3 separate regions of the Homo sapiens genome follow, and regions 1 and 2 are each linked to region 3. Evidence: promoter capture Hi-C in 16 types of primary human blood cells and fetal thymus (Javierre and others, 2016). All regions are on one chromosome and are shown on one strand. Each heading gives the region's core, a stretch centred on a gene start or on the middle of the fragment in contact. The rest is flanking DNA. Distances are from core to core; before and after follow the strand shown. Region 1 holds the start of C9orf40 (chromosome 9 open reading frame 40). Region 2 holds the start of TLE4 (TLE family member 4, transcriptional corepressor). Region 3 holds the start of RNF20 (ring finger protein 20).

Region 1 (3,753 bases), core at 659-3,158, about 27 Mb before region 3:
TTCATGTGTAATCAATATAAAATTGAGCTATTTTATCTTCATTTATTAAATCCACGAAATTTCGTGTATATTTTAAACTTAGAGCACATTTCCATTTGGACTAGTCACGTTTCAAGTGTTCTTACCGGCTAGCGGCCGGGCAGCAGAGATCTAGGCAAACCGAGGCATACCTAGATCTTCTCAGGATTCTTACATGCAGAGATGAGGCAGGCTCATGTCTTGAATAAAAACCCGCCAATGATTCTCATATACGCCTTAAGGCCCAAATTAATTTTCTTTTTTCTTTCTTTTCTTTTCTTTTTTTTTGAGACAGCGTCTCACTCTGTGGCCCAGGCTGGAGTGCACTGGCCCAATCTCAGCTCACTGCAACCGCCATCTCCCAGGTTAAAGTGATTCTTGTGCCTCAGCCTCCCGAGTAGCTGTGATTACGGGCATACACCACCACACCCAGCTAGTTTTTGTGTTTTAATAGAGACAGAGTTTCACCCTATTGGCCAGGCTGGTCTCGAACTCCCGACCTCAGGTGATCCACCCGCCGTGGCCTCCCAAAGTCCTGGGATTCCAGGCGTGAGACACCACGCCCCGCCCCCAAATTAATTTTCAATGATACTTTTGCCTAGGATCAGATTTAACACTATGAGTTAAAACAAAGCTTTGACCAAGGTACGGTGGTCCATCCTTTTCTCCAGAAGCTGTACCAGCCGGTAGGACGTTCAATTAATCAATGGCTACCACACTGGTCTCCCTCTAGAAAAAGAACTCTATCCCGAATTCTAGACTAATCATCGTTAAACCCAGGAAGGCCCTCTACACCTTTATCTGTCGTTTGTCTTTGGGCTGAACCTATGCCCTGACGGTCTGCGTTCTCGCCATGCTCACAGCCCGCCACGACCCACGGTCCCGTTTCCCTTTTACGGAGCGCGGCGCTGACGCCGCAAGGCCACTTCTATCGCTCCCGACCACGGTCTGTTTCCCCCTCGCCCAGCCCAGTGCTTTCTGCCCATCGGACTCTCGGGGTGTGCTTCTGGCGGTCGGCGTCCTCTCCCGGAGCGGTGACCCCTTCTTTCAACCCCCTCAGGCGTCTTAACCTACACAAGTCATGAGTGGGAACCGGGGCGTTTTGTGTGTGTGGGGAAAAGGCAAGCCCCTTCGCCCCTCAGCCCACCCGCCCCCAGCCCCTACCTGGCGCGATGCGACCCCCCAGTCTCCCCGCGGGGGTCCTGCGCGCCCCGCCCCGTCGTCGCCACCGCCCCCCGGGAGCCGGGCGCCCGGGAGCTCCTCCCCCGGCCCCGGCAGTACGGGCGGCGGCGGCAGCGGCGGATCGCCTGTCTCCAGACCGTGGTCCTCACGCTCCTGGCCGCTCGGGGCGCTGTTGTCCCCGCTGTCACGGCGCTTGCTGGGCGAAGCCGAGGGCTCTGCCATGGTCCCTGCGTCGATTTTGCGCTTTCGGTGCTGCTCTGGGACGCCGAGGAGCTGCCCAGCATGCGCGACCCCGGGCGGCCGGATCCAGAGAGGCGGTGGCGGCGGCTGCTCAGCGAAGTCGCAAAGCAGGAGCCGCTTCCAAGGCACGTGGAACGTCACCGGCTCGGCCGCACGCCGCTTGGCCATGGGCCCAGAGGCTCGGGCGGAGCCCGCCAGGCGCGGGAGACCGAGTGCCGATAGCTGCGGGGGGCGAAGAGCGAGGACTGAGCGCGTGAGAGAGGGACAGGCCGAAGTCGGGCGAGGAGGCGACAGGACGCTGGAGGGGGTAGGGCGGGGCAGCTCGCGCAGGGCCTAGGGCTGGGGCTCCGGCTCGGAGGCAGCTCCCGCGCTCAGCCCTCGCCGCCGCCGAGATGCGGCCCGGACGTTGAGAAGCAACCGCGAAGCGGCGGAGATTCGAACCTGCGCACAACGTGCGCGCGCGCACTCTGTCTGGCCAGGCGGAGCCGCTGGTTGGTGGAGGCTCGCGGGGCGCGCTCCCGAGCGCCCTCGCGACCGGAAGTGCGCGCTCGGGGGTAGGCGGGAAGGCCGCGGCGGGATTAATTAAAGACCCGATCAAGCGGCCCGCAGAGGGGCGTGACCTTGTTTCCTCAGGAGTGTGGCGGTGGTCTTACTACTATGTTCGTTATAGCGCGGTACGTTCTAGACCCTTCTATAGGAAATTTAAAACCTTTAAAATGTGTATTTCCTTCCTCCAGTCAGTGACCACGGGGGCGTCTCCATGAGATTAAGACAAAGATTATAATAGAGTTCCAGACTATCCTGGGCAACATAGCAAGACCTCGTCTCTACAAAAAATCAAAAATAGGCCAGGCTTGTTGGCCTGCCCCTGTGGTCCCAGCTACTCGGGAGGCTGAGGAGGAAGATTCACTTGAGCCTGGGAGGTGGAGGCTGTAGTGAGCCAGAGATCGCACCACTACACTGCAGCCTGGGCAACAGAGCGAGATGCCGTCTCAAAAAAAAAAAAAAAAAAAAGGAAAAGGATAATACAAGCTTTAAATAAAACTAGTGTTTAAGAAGCTTCACAGTAGGTTGTTATTCAAAACAAAAGACTGAAGGGAGTCTGGGCTGAGGGAAGTAGCTAAAGCTAACAGAAAACACAAATCGAAGTGTATGTTTTGCATGTTTTGCGCAGCTGCTGTGGAAGGTGAAGCAGGCCCTACATTCCTGGAAGATCTCTTGATTAAAAACTTATGGAGGAAGTTACAGACAAAATGTGCAGCTCATCCAAAATAGCTGAGTAGTTGGCAAGAACCAAGCCTGAAGCGCAGCTGTCCTTTCTAACTGAAACCTAAAATTGTTGGGCTCTTAATTAATGTTGGAAGGCTGAGTTCCCTGCTTACTATGGGCGGTGGTCAGATCAAGATTCTATGGCCATTACAGCAAAATAGTGTTGTCAGGTGAAGTGAGGTGGAGACAATTGCAGTATATTTACTATTTTATTATTTTTATTTTTTATTTTGTTTGAGACAGGGTCTCTCTCGGCCACCTAGGCGGGAGTGCAGTGGTGCCATCACGGCTCACTGCAGCCGGGCCCCACTGAGCTCAAGCGATCTCCTGTCTGGGCCTCCCAAAGTGCTTGGTTTATAGGTGTGAGCCACCGCATCTGGTCGTATTTACTATTTTAATAGTTTGATAAAGACAGTAACCAAGTAAGCAGAAATGGAAGGAAGAAAATAAGACTATTACCAGTGCTTTGAAGGGAAAAACTATCATCCTCTGTAGAAAAAGTGTGCAAGAAAGATAATTCTATTTTAGTGCTAGGTACTATCTCAGTACTAATTTACCCTGTACCCCTGCATCTCAAGGTGGTTGTGAGAGGACAAGTTAATTATTAGTTATTAACAAGCACAGAAATGTACCAAGTTAGGGTAGTAAGCAATAGCTTTTCTGTTTGGTTTTTACTTTTCTTGTTTGAAATTGGTAACCGGCCGGGTGCGGTGGCTCACGTCTTTAATCCCAGCACTTTTGGGAAGATGAGGTGCACAGATCACCTGAGCCCAGGAGTTCCATACCAGCCTGGCCAACATGGTGAAACCCCATCTCTACAGAAAATACAAAAATTAGCCAGAGGTGGTGCCTTGCACCTGTAGTCCCAGGGAGGCTGAGGTGGGAGGATCGCTTGAACCCTGGAGGCAGAGGCCAAGATTGCACCACTGTACTTCCAGCCTGGGTGACAGTGTGAGACCCTGTCTCCAAAAAAAAAAAAATAAATTGAAAACCCGTCTGTCTCAAACAGAGGAAGAGTTTTGCCATTTTTAAATCAGCAGGAAA
Region 2 (3,822 bases), core at 431-2,930, about 22 Mb before region 3:
AAACCCAGCCTGTTACATTAGCCAACACTCTTCTTGACTTTTTCCGAATTTTTTCCCTGTCCCCAAGATTAGCCGCTCGCTAGAAAAGACTGCGAGCCTCAGCAGCCTCCCCTTGAACTGGGGCGCTGCCTCCAGCTGGACACGGACTAAGGATGGAAAGGCGCACTGACGGAGGCCGCCCCCATTTCCCAGGCCCCTCCCTAGGGGTGCCCCTCCTCAGCCATGGCTGCCCCTTTCTCTCCTCCTCCAGCATCTGCCCCTGGGGCCACCCCCACCTTTCCGCCATCTCTCGGGCCCGCGTGGCACCCTGCTCTGTTTTTAACGGGGATAAACTTGACTTGCTTCTCCAAAGAGCGGGAAAAAGAGGCGCAGTCTTGGTACTGATCTGGGGGAGGGAACGTCCCAGGGCGCGCAGGGGCGTTTTCTACCCGTGCCCCGTCGGCCTGCTCTGTTCAGTACCGACCGTGTTCGGGGTTCACGTGGCCCAGTCGGCAAAGTTTCTTTGGAGGTCCAGCGTCTCTGATTCCCGGATCTTCAGCCCCACCCGGAGCCCCCACGGTTACTGCCCCCCGCGACCCCCGATGGAGCGTCGGGATGCGCTTTCTCTCCGAGTGCCTCCGGGGGTGGAGGGAGGGAGGCCTGTTTCGGAACTAAATGGCAATCACAGCCCCCGCGGGGCTTGGAGGGACGAGCTCCCCGCCCACCCCGCGGCCCCGGCCCCAGCCAGCATCTCGCGACTCCATTTCTGGCTCTAAACAAGAACGGGGACCGAGTCGCGTTCACACGGAAAATTATGCCGGCTCCAGCGGCGCGTAAAATTGATGTGAACCGAACGAAGTAAGATCAGCGTGATCCTCCCCCTCTTGTCTCAACAGGGGTTTCGGCGCGTTACACAAGGCCGAGCTTGTCTCTTTAAGGAGACATTGGACCCTAATTAGTCCGCATTCCTGGCGCGGCTGCGGAGCGAGGGGCCGAAGGTGTCTGGGTTGGGAGACGGGTGGGCGGGAGGACGAGACTCGGAAGAAGATCTTTTGACCAGCCCCCAGGCTCACCGCTCCCTCCACCCTCTTTATTTTGCCGCCACCACCACCACCACCACCAACACCTAATTCTGAAGATGCAGCCAGGGCAGCAGCAACAGCAGCAGCCGCCGATTCTCCCAGCCCCACGTTACTTTGATTGACAGCTGAACAAATGTTTTCCCGGTTCGAACGCTCGCGCTAAGGAACGTCAGCCAAGGCGAAGCTCCGCCTTGGGCGGGCCATCTCCGCCCCGCCTCCGCCAACCTCATTCCTCTTCGTTAATTGGTCGGAGCTACAGGCGACGCCCGGCCCCCACGTGGGTTTCAGCTGGGTTGGCTCCTCCCCGCTGGCTTGCCATTTGTCAGCAGTGAAATGATGGGCACTAACACAGAACGGCGATTAATGTTCAGCCACCTCTGATTGGTTGGTGGAGACGCCTACCGCAACGGGGGTGGGCGGGGCGCTTGGAGAGCTCGCCAGAGCGCTCGCATGGCGGGCCGGTGATTGTAGTCAATCTGGCCGTATTCTCAGGCAGGGTCGCCCGGGGCGGACTACATCTCCCGGGATGCTGCGCGGCCGCCCCGCGGAAGATTGTGAATATGTATCAGAATGTTAATGATTAGCTGCTGCTAAATTTGGTCAAAGAAGTCACCTACACAGAGCGTGTTGTTAGAGCTGTGCTGAGCGGGTGTTTGGGTTGTTGGCTGCTTTCTTCCCCCTTTCTCACACACTTGTATATTATTTTGAGGTGGTGTTCGCAGAGTTTGAAAGGAGAGAGAATTAAAAAAAAAAGCCGCAAGCGTTTCACTCTTTTATTTTTATAATCCCCTTCAATTTGGGGTTAAAAAAAAGACAAGAAAACAGGAAGGAAGAGAAATAAGGAAATGAGATGTGGTAAAAGAAGCTAAAAGGTGCCTTTTAAAAGATCGTTGCTGTGAAGTGAAAAAAATCTCCAGAGAAACCAAAAAGCACCGCCGAGACCTCTTCCGAACCAAAGGAGTTTGTGTTTGCTTTTAGGGAAGAAGAAAGATCATTCATTCGGAGGAATAACAACCAATTAAAAGACAAATAAAAAAAGTTTGGAGTGGGACGCAGAGCGAGCGAGAGGAGCTGCCGGCGGGCGGTGGGGCGCGGAGCCCGCACTTTCCCGGCCGGGTGAGCGGCGGCCGCGGCGCCGGGCTCGGCGGGTGCGCCTCGGCGGAGCGAACGTCGGAGCGTTGCCTTGGGAGACGCGCGCCGGACAATGCCCGCGGCGGGCCAGTGACGCCCGCGGGGAATGCGGAGCGGCCCGGCAGCCGGCACCCAGCCGCCGCCGCGCGTTCCTGCCGCCCGTGTCACGCGAGACCCGGCGGGGGCCGGGACCGCCCGAGCCGCCCCTCAGACCGAGCCGGCCGCCTCCGCTGCCGCGGCCGCCTCCTCTTCGGGGTCATTAAAGCCAATGAGCCGCGCGCCTCTGCCGAGCGCAGCCAACTAAATCGGCTTGGATGATTCGCGACCTGAGCAAGATGTACCCGCAGACCAGACACCCAGTGAGTGCGGGCGGCGGGGCGCGGGCTCGCCGGGTGCTGGGGGATTCCCCGCGTCGCCCCCTGCGCACCGAGTTGTGTCTTTTGGCCGGAGGGGCGTGGAGAGCCGCCCGAAATCGGCGCCCCGCGCCGGGAGCAGCCCGCCCGCCATCACCCCCACCCCCCGGCGCGGTGGCCCTCGGAGGGGGTGCGGAGAGGCAATTGAGTTGTAGCCATTTTCTTATTGTTGTCTTTGAAGCCCCTGGAAGCCGCGCCGAGCCGTTTGCGGTCCCCGCGCCGCGACTCCTCGAGGGGGGGTGGCGAGCGATGAAGGAGGCGCGACTCCGCGCCCGGGCGGGGAGGGCGCCCTCGGCAGCGGCGCTGCTGGGCTGGCTGCGGTTTGGAAGTGCGGGGCGCCGGCCCCTCGCGCCGCGGGCCGCCGGGGCGAGCGGGCGAACGAACGAGCCGAGAGGGTGGCGGCCGCCTCCCTCCTCCCCCGGCCTGACCGCAGCCCGACGCCATGGCGCGGGTCCCCCCGACGGGCCAGTTTCGATTCCGGGTGAGGAGGGAGTGGGCGCGGCGCGCGGGTCCCTGGGTGCCTGTCTTTGGCCGGGGAGGGGAGACGGGACTCGAACCCTCGGGGTCCGGGGCGCGGGGGCCTGCGGGCGGGAGTATGCGGGGCCCCAGGACCACCTCGAAACCAGCCTCTGCCTGGGCTGTTGGGCGCGAGGAGGGTTGCGGGAGGAGAGTTTTAATCTCTCTTTGCTTGCGTGCGCGATGACCCTCACCCCCCGCTAACGCCGCATAGTAGGTTTTCTCCGTCTCCCTGCTTCGCCTGTGATGTGGGCTAATTAAATATTTTATTGTTGTTCTTCAGGCACCGCATCAGCCTGCTCAACCCTTTAAATTTACAATTTCCGAATCCTGTGATCGGATTAAGGAAGAGTTTCAGTTTTTACAGGCTCAATACCACAGGTAACGATATTGACTTTAGCTGATCCTTCTGTTTGCTTAGCTCTTGTCTCCCCGACAAATACACACAAACACTTACCCTCCTCCTTTTTTGTGGGGGCGTCACAAAGGTATTATTTTTTTTTCTCGGTGGGCAGAAAGGGCAAATCAAGGCCTCCTTCCTTAGGCAGGTGTAAATAAATTAAACATTTCTTCTACCGTAAATAAAAAGAAGGCAGAACAATCGAAACTGGGGAGACTTGGAAAACGCTGAGGCCAAACTTTCGATATTGATTTATTGGGGCCGGGAGAATGAAAGGTTGGGAAGATTCTGGGGCCTTTTG
Region 3 (3,518 bases), core at 401-2,900:
GAGTTTGCAGTGAGCCGAGATTGTGCCACTGCACTCCAGCCTGGGTGACAGAGTAAGACTCTGTCTCGAAAAAAAGAAAAAAAAAAAAAAAGAAGAAGCCACTACTTTGCTCTAAGCAATGTGACCATGCAAAAATATAACCCTTCTGTTGCAAGATCATCAACATTTTTTAGAGAAACTGATAATTTGGATTTTTATGTAAAATAGCCATATTTTAAATGTTGGCAACTAAGTTCATTTTTGTTCTTGTTTTTAACCACGCAGGACAGCCAATACTGTCTAAAATAAACAAAGCATAACTGTTGGCTAAATGCAGTCTGTGAACCTCTAGTTTTCTGGGCTAGAAAAACCATTACTTGCCATTCAGTAGTTCTATGAATGAAAGGCTTGCTAAGAGTAGAGGAACCAAAGAAGATGAGAGAATGAGTGTCATTGTCTCATACAATGCTTTTCGGCAGGTGTGTCCCCACTCACATGTTCTCAGGCTCCCACTTCACGGAATGAAATGTGAAGTCCACTTGGGGCCAGTTAATTCTTTCCAAGATAGTCAAGGTGTTCCACTGCCAGGCACCAGGAACACTTGTTTCCCTGGTGTTGACCATCTTACTTCATTTACAGGTAAGCCCTAGCAGGTACAGGGACAAAAGTCTTCACACTAACAGAAATCCAGTGTAGATTAGCTTCTTTTTTTCCCAAGATGCCTAAATTCTATTTTTTAAAAAAGATATAGCGATCATTCTTCCATTTCTAGACCCTTAGCTGACGTCATTAGGTAGTTTATCATAGTTCTGCGAGACATACAGCTTTTCATTAATAGGTTAGATTAATTACCGTCCTATCATTAAAACGCATTTAGTTTAACTGAATGGAAAATAGCAGTTTGTCATAAACTTAAAAAAAAAAATCAATGCTTAATTAGCTTAAAATAGACTAGTACTGAGATCAGAGACTGATTGGCGTTTATCTTTTCCCTGGACAATTTCTTGTTCCCAAAAAAGCACAAGGGCAGTAGTTGTCACTCCTGCTTACGCATTAGAATCTAGTGGATGGAAATGCGGGGTTTGGGGGGAGGAGATGAGGGGAACGCTTTTTTAAAAAAGCTTTTGTCCAGGCCAAGTGATTCTAATGTGTAGACAGGGCAGAATACCGCTCCCTGTGCGGGGGAAAAAATCCCCAACATCTGAAATTCCTCAAATCCCTCAGATTCTCTCCAGAACTCTTCATTTCAGCACGTAGGGGTACCAACGAACAATTTTCTGAGGTGTCTGAGGCTAGTCATGTCCCCGGAGATTGACGGGACCGTCAGCCAATCGGCCGTCTGAACGAGTGATGGCAACCCCAATGACAAGCAACAGAATGAGGAACTTTATCCCCGCAGAAAGACCAGATCGCAGTAGCAAAGGTCAACAAGTCAACAAAAGCCAAGGGCTCTCCGTCAGGCATCAGCGAGGCCCGAGTACTCTTAGAGGTCGTAGCCAGGAGAGGGTCCCGCGCTTGCCCAGCGTTGCTAGGGAGGCGGCGCTTGCTCAAGCTTCTCGTGCCCTCTCCGTACGTCACTTCCGCCCGGCGGGGTCTCATAGTCCTATGGGCTGGGTTGAAGCCACTTCCTTTTTTCTTTCCCTTTTTCCTCTCCGTGGCCCCGCCTCCCGGAAGTTCTGCCTTGTCTCCGCCGCGGGTCAGGGGTGAGAGCTGGAATCTCTGCACGGGCCTTGGTGAGTAACTGCTGCGAGTTCTGTTCCCGCGCGGCGCCAGTTCAAAGAACTTAGGTTAGATCACGCTTAGGGCCCAACAGGACTGTGCCAGGCCTCAGGAGTCTCCACCCTCTCCAGTTTTGGGGCCGTCAGTCTCCTGGGCCTGCAATTATCCACGCTGAGGCTGAGGTCTTTGGCTTTTAGCGAGTTGGATTGCAGCCTTGTTCTGCTTCTGTGTCTTCTCTCTCCAGGCGAGGTCCTACTGAGGTTGTTGCCAGCGATAGTCCTCTCCTGGAGCTTGAATTGGAAGCAGAGTAGTCTTGTTAGTCTCGGTGATGGCTGCGTTGTTTCCTGAAGTAGCCAAAGTGCTTTAGCATCCATTCCGCCTCCTTTGAGCACCCTGGGAGGTAGGCAGGGCAGACGAAAAATATATTCGTTAATATTGTGCAGTTGAGGAAACTGAAGCTCTTGGCGAATTCACTGTTTCAAAGCAACACGGCCTCTAACAGGCAGAACTGAAATTCGCACCCAGGTCTAACTAACGTAGGGTTGCATAAAACAGTGGAGAGAGCGTTTGGAAATAGGGAAAACACTGCAAACGTTAAAGAAGAGCTGGGGTTTCTGAGTGCTTACTTTGTGTTCGGCTTTGTGCCAAATTCTTTCTATAATTATATCATCCATTTTATTTTATAATAAGCATAGGAAGTATATACTGTGGTTATTTATTCCTGGGTTAGGAAACTGAGGCTTAGAGATGATAACTGACTTGTCTAGTACTAATGACTTTAGTAGGCATTTCACAGATCTCTTTCAGCTCTGTGATTCTTTCAACACTGTAGTATTAACTTCTGGCATAATCAAACTGCCCTTTTCTGATTTTGGCATTACAGGAAGAGAGATTCCAGAACTTTATTTTTGGTCTCTTCACCCTTTGCCCATTGTCTCATTTCTTATCACCATTCTTATCACCATCCTATTTAGAAATTTATAGTCATGTAAATTTAGCCTTGACTTTCTTTTTTTTTTTTTTTTGAGACGGAGTCCCGCTCTGTTGCCCAGGCTGGAGTGCTGTGGTGCGATCTCGGCTCACTGCAAGCTCCGCCTCCCGGGTTCAAGTGATTCTCCTGCCTTAGCCTCCCGAGTAGCTGGGACTACCGGCGCCCGCCACCACGCCTGGCTAATTTTTTGTATTTTTAGTAGAGACGGGGTTTCACCGTGTTAGGCAGGATGGTCTCGATCTTCTGACCTCTTGATCCGCCCGCCTCGGCCTCCCAAAGTGCTGGGATTACAGACATGAGCCACCGCGCCCGGCCCGCCTTGACTTTTACTCTACAATTTAATTTTTTTTTTTTTTCCTCAAAGAGAAATATGGAGATGGTTGTGGAATTAATGGATCCAGGTTAAAGGGTTGGCCAGAAAAGTTGCTAGTTTTTACTCTATTGTTTTACTCTATTGTTGCTTTGCTTACATATATTATGTCAGTTTCTGCCTTTTTTTCTATCAGGAAAACGACTGTCTTCTTCTGCCAAAATGTCAGGAATTGGAAATAAAAGAGCAGCTGGAGAACCTGGCACCTCCATGCCTCCTGAGAAGAAGGCAGCTGTTGAAGATTCAGGGACCACAGTGGAAACAATTAAGCTAGGAGGTGTCTCTTCAACGGTATGAGGAAACAGTGCCATGAAAGTGTGCTTGTCTTCTGTCAGTTGCAACTTGAAACTAAAAATTCATGGAAGCTTTCTGGAGTATGGGGAAGCTATTTGAAAAGAAGAGGGAAATAAAACAGGCTGAAAGTAGGTAAAATGATGTGGTAGTCAGTTCTAGAGGAGA

Evidence for each region. The method cuts DNA at HindIII sites, captures the fragments that hold promoters and counts their contacts. A CHiCAGO score of 5 or more calls a contact.
Region 1: the fragment with the promoter of C9orf40 here is called in contact with the fragment with the promoter of RNF20 in region 3 in 2 of 17 cell types (fetal thymus and total B cells); the score reaches 14.5 in fetal thymus.
Region 2: a contact is called between the fragment with the promoter of TLE4 here and the fragment with the promoter of RNF20 in region 3, in 2 of 17 cell types (non-activated CD4 T cells and activated CD4 T cells). The highest score is 7.3, in non-activated CD4 T cells.

Annotation. Positions count from the first base shown.
Region 1 is chr9:74,951,004-74,954,756 of GRCh38, forward strand. It overlaps C9orf40 (chromosome 9 open reading frame 40), which reads right to left and starts at 1,909. Exons shown (of 2, transcript NM_017998.3): 1 at 1,183-1,909. The coding sequence starts at 1,608. It overlaps CARNMT1-AS1 (CARNMT1 antisense RNA 1), which reads left to right and starts at 1,962. Exons shown (of 5, transcript NR_121183.1): 1 at 1,962-2,114. RefSeq lists an enhancer at 801-870 and silencers at 1,201-1,410, 1,681-1,890. The HindIII fragment of the contact is 1,820 bases long and covers 651-2,470 here.
Region 2 is chr9:79,570,285-79,574,106 of GRCh38, forward strand. It overlaps TLE4 (TLE family member 4, transcriptional corepressor), which reads left to right and starts at 1,681. Exons shown (of 20, transcript NM_007005.6): 1 at 1,681-2,551; 2 at 3,405-3,502. The coding sequence starts at 2,507. RefSeq lists silencers at 153-202, 2,113-2,232, 2,293-2,452, 2,563-3,032, 3,053-3,292 and enhancers at 1,563-1,692, 1,703-1,752, 1,793-1,882, 2,610-3,222. The HindIII fragment of the contact is 12,449 bases long and covers 1-3,822 here.
Region 3 is chr9:101,532,203-101,535,720 of GRCh38, forward strand. RNF20 (ring finger protein 20) reads left to right here and starts at 1,651. Exons shown (of 20, transcript NM_019592.7): 1 at 1,651-1,712; 2 at 3,196-3,350. The coding sequence starts at 3,222. It also overlaps a transcript of PGAP4 not described here. RefSeq lists an enhancer at 1,393-1,522. The HindIII fragment of the contact is 1,893 bases long and covers 1,530-3,422 here.